Linked DNA regions of Homo sapiens: regions 1 and 3 are each linked to region 2. Evidence: promoter capture Hi-C in 16 types of primary human blood cells and fetal thymus (Javierre and others, 2016). All regions are on one chromosome and are shown on one strand. Each heading gives the region's core, a stretch centred on a gene start or on the middle of the fragment in contact. The rest is flanking DNA. Distances are from core to core; before and after follow the strand shown. Region 1 overlaps ERO1A (endoplasmic reticulum oxidoreductase 1 alpha). Region 2 holds the start of PTGER2 (prostaglandin E receptor 2). Region 3 overlaps RTRAF (RNA transcription, translation and transport factor).

Evidence for each region. The method cuts DNA at HindIII sites, captures the fragments that hold promoters and counts their contacts. A CHiCAGO score of 5 or more calls a contact.
Region 1: a fragment that was not itself captured here is called in contact with the fragment with the promoter of PTGER2 in region 2 in 2 of 17 cell types (M2 macrophages and megakaryocytes); the score reaches 6.3 in M2 macrophages.
Region 3: a contact is called between a fragment that was not itself captured here and the fragment with the promoter of PTGER2 in region 2, in 1 of 17 cell types (naive CD8 T cells). The highest score is 5.1, in naive CD8 T cells.

Annotation. Positions count from the first base shown.
Region 1 is chr14:52,645,232-52,648,855 of GRCh38, reverse strand. ERO1A (endoplasmic reticulum oxidoreductase 1 alpha) reads left to right here. Exons shown (of 16, transcript NM_014584.3): 14 at 2,395-2,481; 15 at 2,569-2,702. Among named protein-coding and RNA genes, the nearest start is that of ERO1A, 49 kb to the left of the region's middle. The HindIII fragment of the contact is 1,398 bases long and covers 1,080-2,477 here.
Region 2 is chr14:52,312,776-52,316,184 of GRCh38, reverse strand. It overlaps PTGER2 (prostaglandin E receptor 2), which reads right to left and starts at 1,873. Exons shown (of 2, transcript NM_000956.4): 1 at 794-1,873. The coding sequence starts at 1,636. RefSeq lists enhancers at 979-1,118, 1,139-1,288, 1,523-2,082, 2,083-2,643 and a silencer at 1,809-1,918. The HindIII fragment of the contact is 17,361 bases long and covers 1-3,409 here.
Region 3 is chr14:52,003,003-52,006,387 of GRCh38, reverse strand. It overlaps RTRAF (RNA transcription, translation and transport factor), which reads right to left. Exons shown (of 8, transcript NM_016039.3): 7 at 2,146-2,194; 8 at 1-2,026. The coding sequence ends at 1,872. NID2 (nidogen 2) reads left to right here. Exons shown (of 22, transcript NM_007361.4): 21 at 539-651; 22 at 892-1,579. The coding sequence ends at 902. Among named protein-coding and RNA genes, the nearest start is that of RTRAF, 15 kb to the right of the region's middle. The HindIII fragment of the contact is 8,552 bases long and covers 1-3,385 here.

The DNA of each region.
Region 1 (3,624 bases), core at 529-3,028, 330 kb before region 2:
TTTATTTGGCTATTGTAAGCAGCCATGCCTGCTCTCTGTACATGTCATACAAAGACTTACTCAAGAGCTGTCACATTCAAGTATTTGAATTAACGTAGAAGCAAACATTGAAATTAGCGTCTACAAAAGCAAGCACAGTCTTTTAGAACAGAGGCTTCCAACTCTCACAAGTATGGGAGTCTCTTATACTCAGGAACTTTCAAGGCCTCTTCTCATGACAGAGTATTTTTAGTATCTGTTGATTTTGAAAATATGATTGCCAAAAAGCCACCATGCATTTAGTAACACTTTAAAAGTAAAAGTTGTGTTTTATTGATCATAACATTTCTATCCATTTGGAAATTTATAGTGCATATATGTGAGCTATTTATTCTGTGGTATATAGTCTTGTCTCTATGTGGATTCTGTGGATCCTCATAATAACCATTAAGTCTTCTGGAAGTCAACAGCTCATAGGATGGGAACATGTTCTTTAGGGTAACTTTCTTACTCTGTTATTATTGTTAAAAGTGTGATTTTTCTTTAAGTTTTGGTCAATGCTCTAGTTTAAAGGCAACCTAAAATCAGATCACAGAATCTTTGTAGAGTAATATTACCGGTTAGTTTTAAGTAGGTTTAAAATTAGTACCTGTTGCTTGGATGTCATGTGGTCATAAAAATAAAAAAAAAATAGTACCTCTTACTGTACAGGTACTGAAACCAAGATAGAGAATATTATTAAGATATGGTAACAATGAACAATTTGGGCTTTGTCTTAATTAATAAAGATATTACATCTTAGATCCTATTAAAACTTTCTTTCATGTTACAGCTGTTTGAAAGTCACAAACTGAATAAAGCATGTTGGGAAAGTCTGTCTCCAGAGCAAATTGAGGTTTCCTTTGAATAGTGGGTTCCAATCATTGATTTATTCCTATTTTAGATTTGTGGTCCTGCCTTCATCTGGTTGAGCCTAGTGTGTGGTTTATCACATTAGAATAAGAGAAATACTGTGTGCTCCCTAAATTATAGGCCAATTTGTATAATGGATGTTCTATCTGAGATGTATGTCAGATTTCCTGCTAAGAATACTGTAAGCTTGAGATTCCCCTCTTAGTCCAGTACAGGAGTCTCTTGGAGGATCAGTTGGTAATTTCCATTGAAGGAAAAGAAGGATGTGTTCTTGGCTTCCCTTCTTTTTTCCATATTCCTTAAGGACATATACTATGTTTAGATTAGCTGGATGCATGTCGCCCTATTATAAATGATATAATATTCTAGGGTTCATGGATGTATACATATGTATTAAAAGCATAAAAACAAAAAGGGAACAATGCCAAATTCAATATAGTAGTAGAGGGTGGGATATGGGACTCGAGAGATAACATGAGGGGCTTCGATTGTACTTGTGACAAATTTTTCTAAAACTTGGTAGTGGGTATGTGGCATTCACTATATTTTATATATTTTTGCATTTTAATAGTAATAGTAATTTAATATTAACAAAGGAAGACCTGATTGTTTACCTTATTCATACCAGAAAGAAGGGCTGTGGTTGAATTATTATGAAACCAAAGGGCTGGGCACAGTGGCTCACGCCTGTAATCCCAGCACTTTGGGAGGTCGAGGTGGGCGGATCACGAGGTCAGGAGATCGAGACCATCCTGGCTAACATGGTGAAACCCTGCCTCTACTAAAAAAAAAAAAAAAAAAAAAAAAAAAAAAAAAAAAAAATTAGCTGGGCGTGGTGGCAGGTGCCTGTAGTCCCGGCTACTCAGGACGCTGAGGCAGGAGAATGGTGTGAACCTGGGAGGCAGAGCTTGCAGTGAGCGAGATTCCCCCACTGCACTCCAGCTTGGGTGACAGGGCGATACTCTCAAAAAAAAAAAAAAAAAAAAAAAAAGAAACCAAAGGATTTTTTTTTTCCTTTCCATTCCTGCCTTCTCTCATTCCCTCCCTCCATTCCTTCTGGTAAATGATGCTCTCTAACCCTGTCTCACCCTCCTTTCTCCACCTATTGACATATAGTTAATCACCTACAATGGACACCTTGACAAAGTTATTTTGTATATTTTTGCAGATAGTTTAGCTTTGGAGTCAGACAGGCCTGGTTTCTAAGTTTTTTGTTTACTAGATGTGGGAATTTAGGCAAGTTACCTAAACACTCTGAATCTTGTTTTTTACATTCATTAGGTGTAGATTATAATAATAACTACCTTTGGATTTGTGGTGAAGATTAAATGAGATTGTGTATGTAAGGATCTGGTATGTAGAATCAATGAATATTAGTGCTGTTCTCATTTTTGGTACCCCATAGTACCTTGCACAGTGTTAGGCACATAGAACCTGCTCAGAAAATACTTACTAATTGACTGTATATTACATCTTAATAAAATCTTGTTAAATTGTTTTCAGGAGGACTTTCGACTGCATTTTAGAAATATTTCAAGAATTATGGATTGTGTTGGTTGTTTTAAATGTCGTCTGTGGGGAAAGCTTCAGGTAAGCAAATTTAGTCATTCCTATTTCTCATTTACCCTTTGCATGAATAATTTTCTAATTTTTCTTTTTTCCTTATTTCTATTACAGACTCAGGGTTTGGGCACTGCTCTGAAGATCTTATTTTCTGAGAAATTGATAGCAAATATGCCAGAAAGTGGACCTAGTTATGAATTCCATCTAACCAGACAAGAAATAGTATCATTATTCAACGCATTTGGAAGGTTAGTTTGAATGTACTGAAATGCTTCTGGTAGCCAAGTAAGTCTAATGCAACATATATGCTCTCAGAAAAAACTGGGTAAGGAATATCCTTTTTATTTTATTTGTTTATTTATTTTTGAGACGGAGTTTTGGTCTGTAGCCCAGGCTGGAGTGCAGTGGCGTGATCTCGGCTCACTGCGACCTCCACCTTCTGGGTTCAAGCGATTCTCCCAACTTAGCCTCCCAAGTAGCTGGGATTACAGGTGCGTGACACCACGCCTGGCTAATTTGTGTGTGTGTGTGTGTGTGTGTGTGTGTGTGTGTGTATTTTTAGTAGAAACACGGTTTCACCATGTTGGCCAGGCTGGTCTTGAACTCCTGACCTCAGGTGATCTGCCAGGCTCCACCTCCCGAAGTGCTGGATTACAGGCGTGAGCCACTGTGCCCAGCCAGGAATATTTTTTTTGAAGAAATCATTTCATTACAGAATTATGGGATATTATGAAATACCTCCAGTATGTAGACATATACAATTAGTACATGATCGTCTTTATTTTCCTCTATTGACTTTTATAATCATAATTAGGGCCGGGCACGGTGGCTCATGCCTGTAATCCTAGCACTTTGAGAAGCCAAGGTGGGTGGATCACTTGAGGCCAGGAGTTCAAGACCAGCCTGGCCAACTCTACTAAAATCAAAAAAAATTAGCCAGGCATGGTGGAGCATGCCTGTGGTCCCAGCTACTCAGGAGGCTGAGGCAGAAGAATCGCTTGAACCCGGGAGGCAGAGGTTGCAGTGAGCCGAGATCATACCACTGCACTCCAGCCAGGGTGACAGAGCAAGACATCATCTCAAAAAAAAAAAAAAAAAAGTGTGTATATGTATGTATAAAATCATAATTATAATTACTCATTGAATTTTAATATTCATCTTATCGAATTT
Region 2 (3,409 bases), core at 624-3,123:
TCATCAAGTGCATAACTGTAAGCTGAAGGACACCTGTGTGTATTTCTGACAGTGACATTAAGAGCGTGTTTTGCAAGATATTACAAATGCTTAGCAAGATGTTCCTCCAAGTATTTCCTCTAGTTATCATTATGGTTTTATAAACTTTCATGGCCACAAAGAGTTACATTCAAATATATAAATTGGGAAACCTATAAACTAGATGTTTGTTGGACTTTTAGGACAAATAACAAATGCTCTAAACTTCTGCTTCAGGGACCCTTCTCATCTGGGACCATTTTCAATGGCAGCTGGAATGCTATGGGTTGGGTACTACATTTTGCCCTGGCAGGAACAGAAGGCAAGCATGGAGAACCAGCACCAGTGGATGAGAGGTACAGGGCAGCAAACTGCAGCTCCAGGTCGTCAGGCTGGAACAGTGACAGCCATCCTAAGGTGGAAGGGGCTGCCTCTTTCTCAATTACTAAGCCAAGATAGGCAACAGCGAGAAAGGGACACTGCCCAGGGCTAGGATGAGGAGATTGGCTAGCTTAGCTGAGGCCCAGGACTCCCTTTCGGACGGTCTGTATTATTGTATAAGAAACTCTAGCCTAGCAACGCCCATAAGCCAGGATAAGGAAGTGGGCTAAAGAGGAGGGGAAACTAGTGGGGAAGGCTACAGATCTTTACAAATTAGGACATATTTTTACAAGTTGCAAAAAGTTTGTAGGGCGGTGGAAAGGGTGGAGGCGTCAGGGGAGAGCATGAGAAGGCTGAGCAGAGCCGGGCTGTGGAAACGTAGGGAGTGACTTACCGTGAAAGGCAAGGAGCAGACGGCGAAGGTGATGGTCATGATAGCCAGGAGAATGAGGTGGTCCGTCTCCTCCGCCATGGACACCCTTTCCCCTCTCCTGCGGGCCCCGGGGCCGCCCCGGCCACTGCCCAGGGAAGGTCCGCAGCGGCTTCTCCGGCTTCGGCGGTGCATGCGGATGAGGTTGAGAATGACACTGAAGTTGCAGGCGAGCACCGAGACAATGAGAAGCAGCAGCAGGGTGGCGTACAGCTGCAGGTAAGCGGTCCGCCCGTGCCGGATGAAGCACCAGGTCCCGGGGCAGTACTGGACGTACTGCCCATAGTCCAGCAGCGGCAGCGAGCAGAAGAGCAGGGAGACTGCATAGATGACAGGCAGCACGGCCAGGCCCCCGGAGCGCGAGACGCGGCGCTGGTAGAAGTAGGGGTGCCCGATCGAGAGGTAGCGCTCCAGGGCCATGGCGAAGAGCATGAGCATCGTGGCCAGGCTGAAGAAGGTCATGGCGAAAGCGAAGTAGGTGCACGCGCGGCTCTCGGGCGCCAGTGCCACCAGGGTCTGGTTCCGCGCGTACGAAGCCAGTACCACTGGGCTGATGAGGCAGGTCCCGAGCAGGTCGGTGAACACCAGCTCGGTCACCAGCACGTGGAACAAGGAGAGGGAGCTCCTGCGGCCGGCGCTGCACCCCACGTCCCCCCGCCAGCGGCGCGCCAGCAGCGCCAGTGCTATGAGGTTCCCCAGCACCCCGGCCGAGAACATGACGGAGCTGATGGCTGGGCTTTCGCCTGGGGGAAGCCACTGTCGCGTCTCGCAGTCCTCAGACTGGGAGTCATTGGAGGCATTGCCCATGGTGGGGTGCCTGGAAAAGAGATGCGCCCTCCTCTCCCGGCCTTTACCTGGGAGGAAGAGGGTCTGAGAGCCGGAGCGTTCCGAGACTCAGAGGAAAAAGGGGAGGGACCGAAATCCAGAGCCCCCTTCCCGCACCCAGCGCGCCGACGGCGGCTTGCCCTGGGTCTCCCGCCGCGCGCCGAGTGGCGGCTCGGCTGCTGCATCCGAGCGGCGCTCGAGGCTCCCGCGCCTACCCGCGCCGGCCAAGGCCGGGAGCCAGAGCCTAGGGGAGCCGTCGTCTCCGCCCCCGCACTGTCGGGGGGCGGGCCCAAGAGTGCTGGCCAGGCCTTGCAAGTGCGAGTGTCCGCGAGCTGCAGGGGAGGCAGGACGCGTCACACTCGCGGGGGCGTTCCGAGTCCCTGGGGCGCGCCGGCGGGGAGGGAGAGAAGGAGTCTGAGCACCCGCTGGGCGCGGCACTGGGCAGAGGCGCGCGTGTTGCCGGTGTACTGAAGCTGCCCGCGACCGGCGGGAGCGGCGTTTCTCGCTTCCTCGGGGTCCGGTACTCGAAGCGCACGGCAGTCTGACCTCGGCTGGGAAGCGTTAAGCCCCAGCAGAGGGCTGGGAGGGAGTGCAGGAGCACTTGCGGGGTCTGCGCAGAATACACAGAAGATCGGGGCAACGAGCAAAGCAAAGCAACTCACCAAACAATGAAGTTAGGAGAACCCAATCCCGTGAAATGAGCGGAACAAGGGAATAACAGTGCAAAGGCAGCTTGAAGTAAGACCAGAATGTTTTGCTTTGTTTTTACTATTCCCAGGAAGATACACTAAGAGGTTGGGACAAAAATTGGGATGAAGCGTAAAGCAAGTGTGTCCATCCAAGGAACCAAACCACACAATGCGCACCACCGAGCGGCCTGTTGCACTGCCGCTTTGATTCGGTTACTAGCATTTCACCGTTTCCTATGTCAACAGCATAACGGATAACCACTTGTTTAAGCAACCATTAAAAAAAGAGGAGTGTGTCTTATACAGAATTGTGTTTGTGGATACAACATGAAAACCATTGCACATCACTGTTCTGTCCTTAAGCTGAGCCTTGTAAGAAAATGTTGATATTTTGTTTAGCCGTTTATCTTTACATGTTGTTAACCACGTAGTATCCATCCAGAAAGACTTGTTCCTGGCAAAGTGTATTGGTAAGTGGCCAGTTTCAGACTGGAGCTGACAGTAATGGTTTCCTACCACATATTGTCATAATTGCAGAGTCGTGAAAATGGGCTGATATTTAACACAAAACAAAACAAAACAAAATCCAGTTTGGCAGACAACATAGGTAATTGTGTTCTGTAAGAAGTCACATTCACTTGGGGAAGGGAGGCCAACTGGGAAGTGAAGGGTCTGATCTGCCTAGGGAACTGGCAAGAAAGACAGTCATAACGTGGGAGGAAGCAAAGATTGCCTGCTGAAGAGCCTATCTTGCTACAGCCTGCTTACTCTCCATGAATATTTTTTGCCAACTTTGATGATTCTGGCCTGGGGATTGGAATGCGGAGTTGGGGGGGGTGGTTCCCACTAGAACAAGCATAATTTACTGGATCGCTTGCAAAGTTTACAGGCCGGTTTTCACATGTCAGCAGGCACTACTTCAATCCCTAAACTTCTCATGGCATGGATTCCTAGGAAAGAGGATCTTAACTCCTACAGTTTTTCTTTCAAGCTGTAAACTCTGCAGGTCAGTAACAACTTATTACCAATCTTTGCCATCCATCTCTGACTATTCCCCTACTCCAAC
Region 3 (3,385 bases), core at 356-2,855, 310 kb after region 2:
TCAAGGATGTTTTTCATCCTTTCATGTTTTTGAAATCATCCTTTTACTTCACCCAGAAATCGAATGGTATTGCTCACATATAGCTTAAAAAGTAGCAAAGCTATTGGATAATGTCTCAAAAGGGAGCATATTAATCTAAATATGTTCTTTAGAGAATAAGACTACCCTTGATACCATGAGCTATATTACAGGGCTTAAGTTGGCTTTTGACACTGTGGACATATTGTCTGAGGGACCGAAAAATACTATTTAGACTAGTTCTCAAATGAGGAACTGTGGAACATTAAAGTCTAAGCCCTTTACACCATGCCCTACAACTCTGATTTGATAGCTCATCATGTGATTCTAACATGCAGCTAGAGATGAGCAATGGATTTAGAGCAATGGTCTTCAAACTTCAGTATGGCTTTAGCACCAGCCCTGGGACAGAGAAGGCTGCCAGAAATTTTCCTCTATTGCAACTGATTTTCTGTGGCTGACTGACTTCTTTATCTAGTAAATGACTGTCCCTGAATTCACTCTTCCTTTCTGTTACCAGGGATGGTGTTGTATCAGTAAATAAACATAGTGGCCAGTTTACTGATGAGTATCTCCCAGAACAACGATCTCACCTCTACGGGATAACTGCAGTCTACCCCTACTGCCCAACAGGTAAAAAGTATGCTTTAGGATGCTCCTTTAAATTAGCAGGGTAGAGAAGGGATATATATGGTATTTGATTACCCCTGCTGCCTGTGACACTGCCACCATTGCCTTCTTCCTGCCCTGAGGGCCAGTCTTTACTACCTTAAATCTACCTAGTTTATACACAAAATGCAAAGACTTGCTGTTGCAACTTGGTTACAATATACTCACCCACCACCCTGTCCCACCCCTGCTCTTCTCTCACAGGAAGAAAGTAAGTACAGTAATGTAAAGGAAGACTTGGAGTTTACAATCAGAACCTGGACCCTAAAGAACAGTGACTGCAAAGGCAAAGAAAGTAAAAAAGGAATTGGCCATTAGACGTTCCTGAGCATCCAAGATGAACATTTTGTAGTGCAAAAAGACTTTTGTGAAAAGCTGATACCTCAATCTTTACTACTGTATTTTTAAAAATGAAGGTTGTTATTGCAAGTTTAAAAAGGTAACAGAATTTTAACTGTTGCTTATTAAAGCAACTTCTTGTAAACATTTATCATTAATATTTAAAAGATCAAATTCATTCAACTAAGAATTAGAGTTTAAGACTCTAAACCTGATTTTTGCCATGGATTCCTTCTGGCCAAGAAATTAAAGCACATGTGATCAATATAACAATATAATCCTAAACCTTGACAGTTGGAGAAGCCAATGCAGAACTGATGGGAAAGGACCAATTATTTATAGTTTCCCAACAAAAGTTCTAAGATTTTTTACCTCTGCATCAGTGCATTTCTATTTATATCAAAAGGTGCTAAAATGATTCAATTTGCATTTTCTGATCCTGTAGTGCCTCTATAGAAGTACCCACAGAAAGTAAAGTATCACATTTATAAATACCAAAGATGTAACAATTTTAAAATTTTCTAGATTACTCCAATAAAGTGTTTTAAGTTTTCCTATGACTTAAGGATCTATATTGTCTCTAGGACAAAGCTGGGGGTTGGCATATATGCCTTAACCACAAAGGAGAAAGGTGATTTATGCAAACATACAGTACATAATAAAAATTCTACTTTCCTAAACTTTATTAAAGAAAAAAGCAATAAGCAATGGTGGTAAATCTCTAGAACATACCCAATTTTCTGGGCTTCCTCCCCCGAGAATGTGACATTTTGATTTCCAAACATGCCAGAAGTGTATGGTTCCCAACTGTACTAAGTAGGTGAGAAGCTGAAGTCCTCAAGTGTTCATCTTCCAACTTTTCCCAGTCTGTGGTCTGTCTTTGGATCAGCAATAATTGCCTGAACAGCTACTATGGCTTCGTTGATTTTTGTCTGTAGCTCTCTGAGCTCCTCTATGTGCAGCAATCGCAGAATTTGAGCAGCTTCATTAAGAACTGCATCTGTTTTATGAGAAAAGAACACTGCTTCAATACATAATTTTTACATTTAAGGCCATTTATTTCCTCCCAAGTATTCAGTCTGTAAAAAAAATAGTTTGAATTTAAACAAAATCACTTACCTCCTGTGTCAAAACCAAGAATATGTTTGTCTAAAGCAACAGGTAAGCCCTTTAAAAAAAGAAAGACAAAATGAGAGTATTTATGGTTAAGAATAGCATCCTTTCCTCAACTGAAACTGAAAAGCACCTAGCTATTCTGGTGTCTTAACTCTTTTAGCTGCATGGGCAAGGGAACTAGGAATTTTGTTTATATTTGCTTTGTGATGATTGTGATTAGCGAGTTTTCCCTATTTCAACCGGTTAGGGGGAAAAGTTAACCTTTAAATGTACCAGGAAGCTCTATAGCTCATCCAATCCTTTAGCCCAGGCATACAAAACAATATATCCTTATTGCAGCAGTGCCTTGTCATTACTGCTATGGAAGGCAAGTTGAGCCAGGCTGTTACTGTCTTATTTTGGCGACAGTAAGCAACAGTATAAACGGCAAAAATAGTACCTTATATTCCATTTCTGAGCACATTAATTTGTCTTTACAAATTGTACGAACCTTTCAGCCAGCATGGTGTTTGCCAAGATTATGTATAATTATGTATAATTTAACTTTCAAGACTTGACTTGGAAGTTACTTTGAAACAAACAGTCTAGGAAAATGAAAAACTAAACCACTCAGCACCTATGGACATACTAAAGATGGTGACTATGGTGATGCCAAACTTCACAGAAACAAATTCTAAAATGAGGACAGTCTGTACTTCCTGCTGATTATATAAAATCACTGCCAAGAAAAACACACTACCCGTACTTTCAATCTTTCAATGTTACAACCTGTTACTATTCAAATGCTTTAGTCACTGCTCAATTCTTGCCTTATCTAGTAATGTAAATCTACGTAGGCTCTGTCTGCTTTAAAACAGCTAACACATGTAAGTCTGAAGAAACCAATGGGTACGAAAGCACAAGTGAGCAAAATTAAAGAGCAGAATTGTACTGAGTGGCTTTATATGTTCATCTAGTACCAGAGGCTCCACTTTTTTTTCCTTTGCCAACAGGCCACCAAGCTACCCCTGAAAACTACCATATGCCTCAAATAGTAGTTATAAATGCTTATAAGTACACTAGACTGTAAGAACTCCACTAAATTGTTATAGGCTGGTATCTTTTGAGATGACACCAAAATTAAAATTGGGAGCATTAAAAATAAAACTAAATTTTACTTTACAAACAAGAGCAAAGAGATTTGGCTAAGCCTTTACTTACACTGCCTTCCAAAGCATAGTTTTGCTGAAGGAATGAATGAATG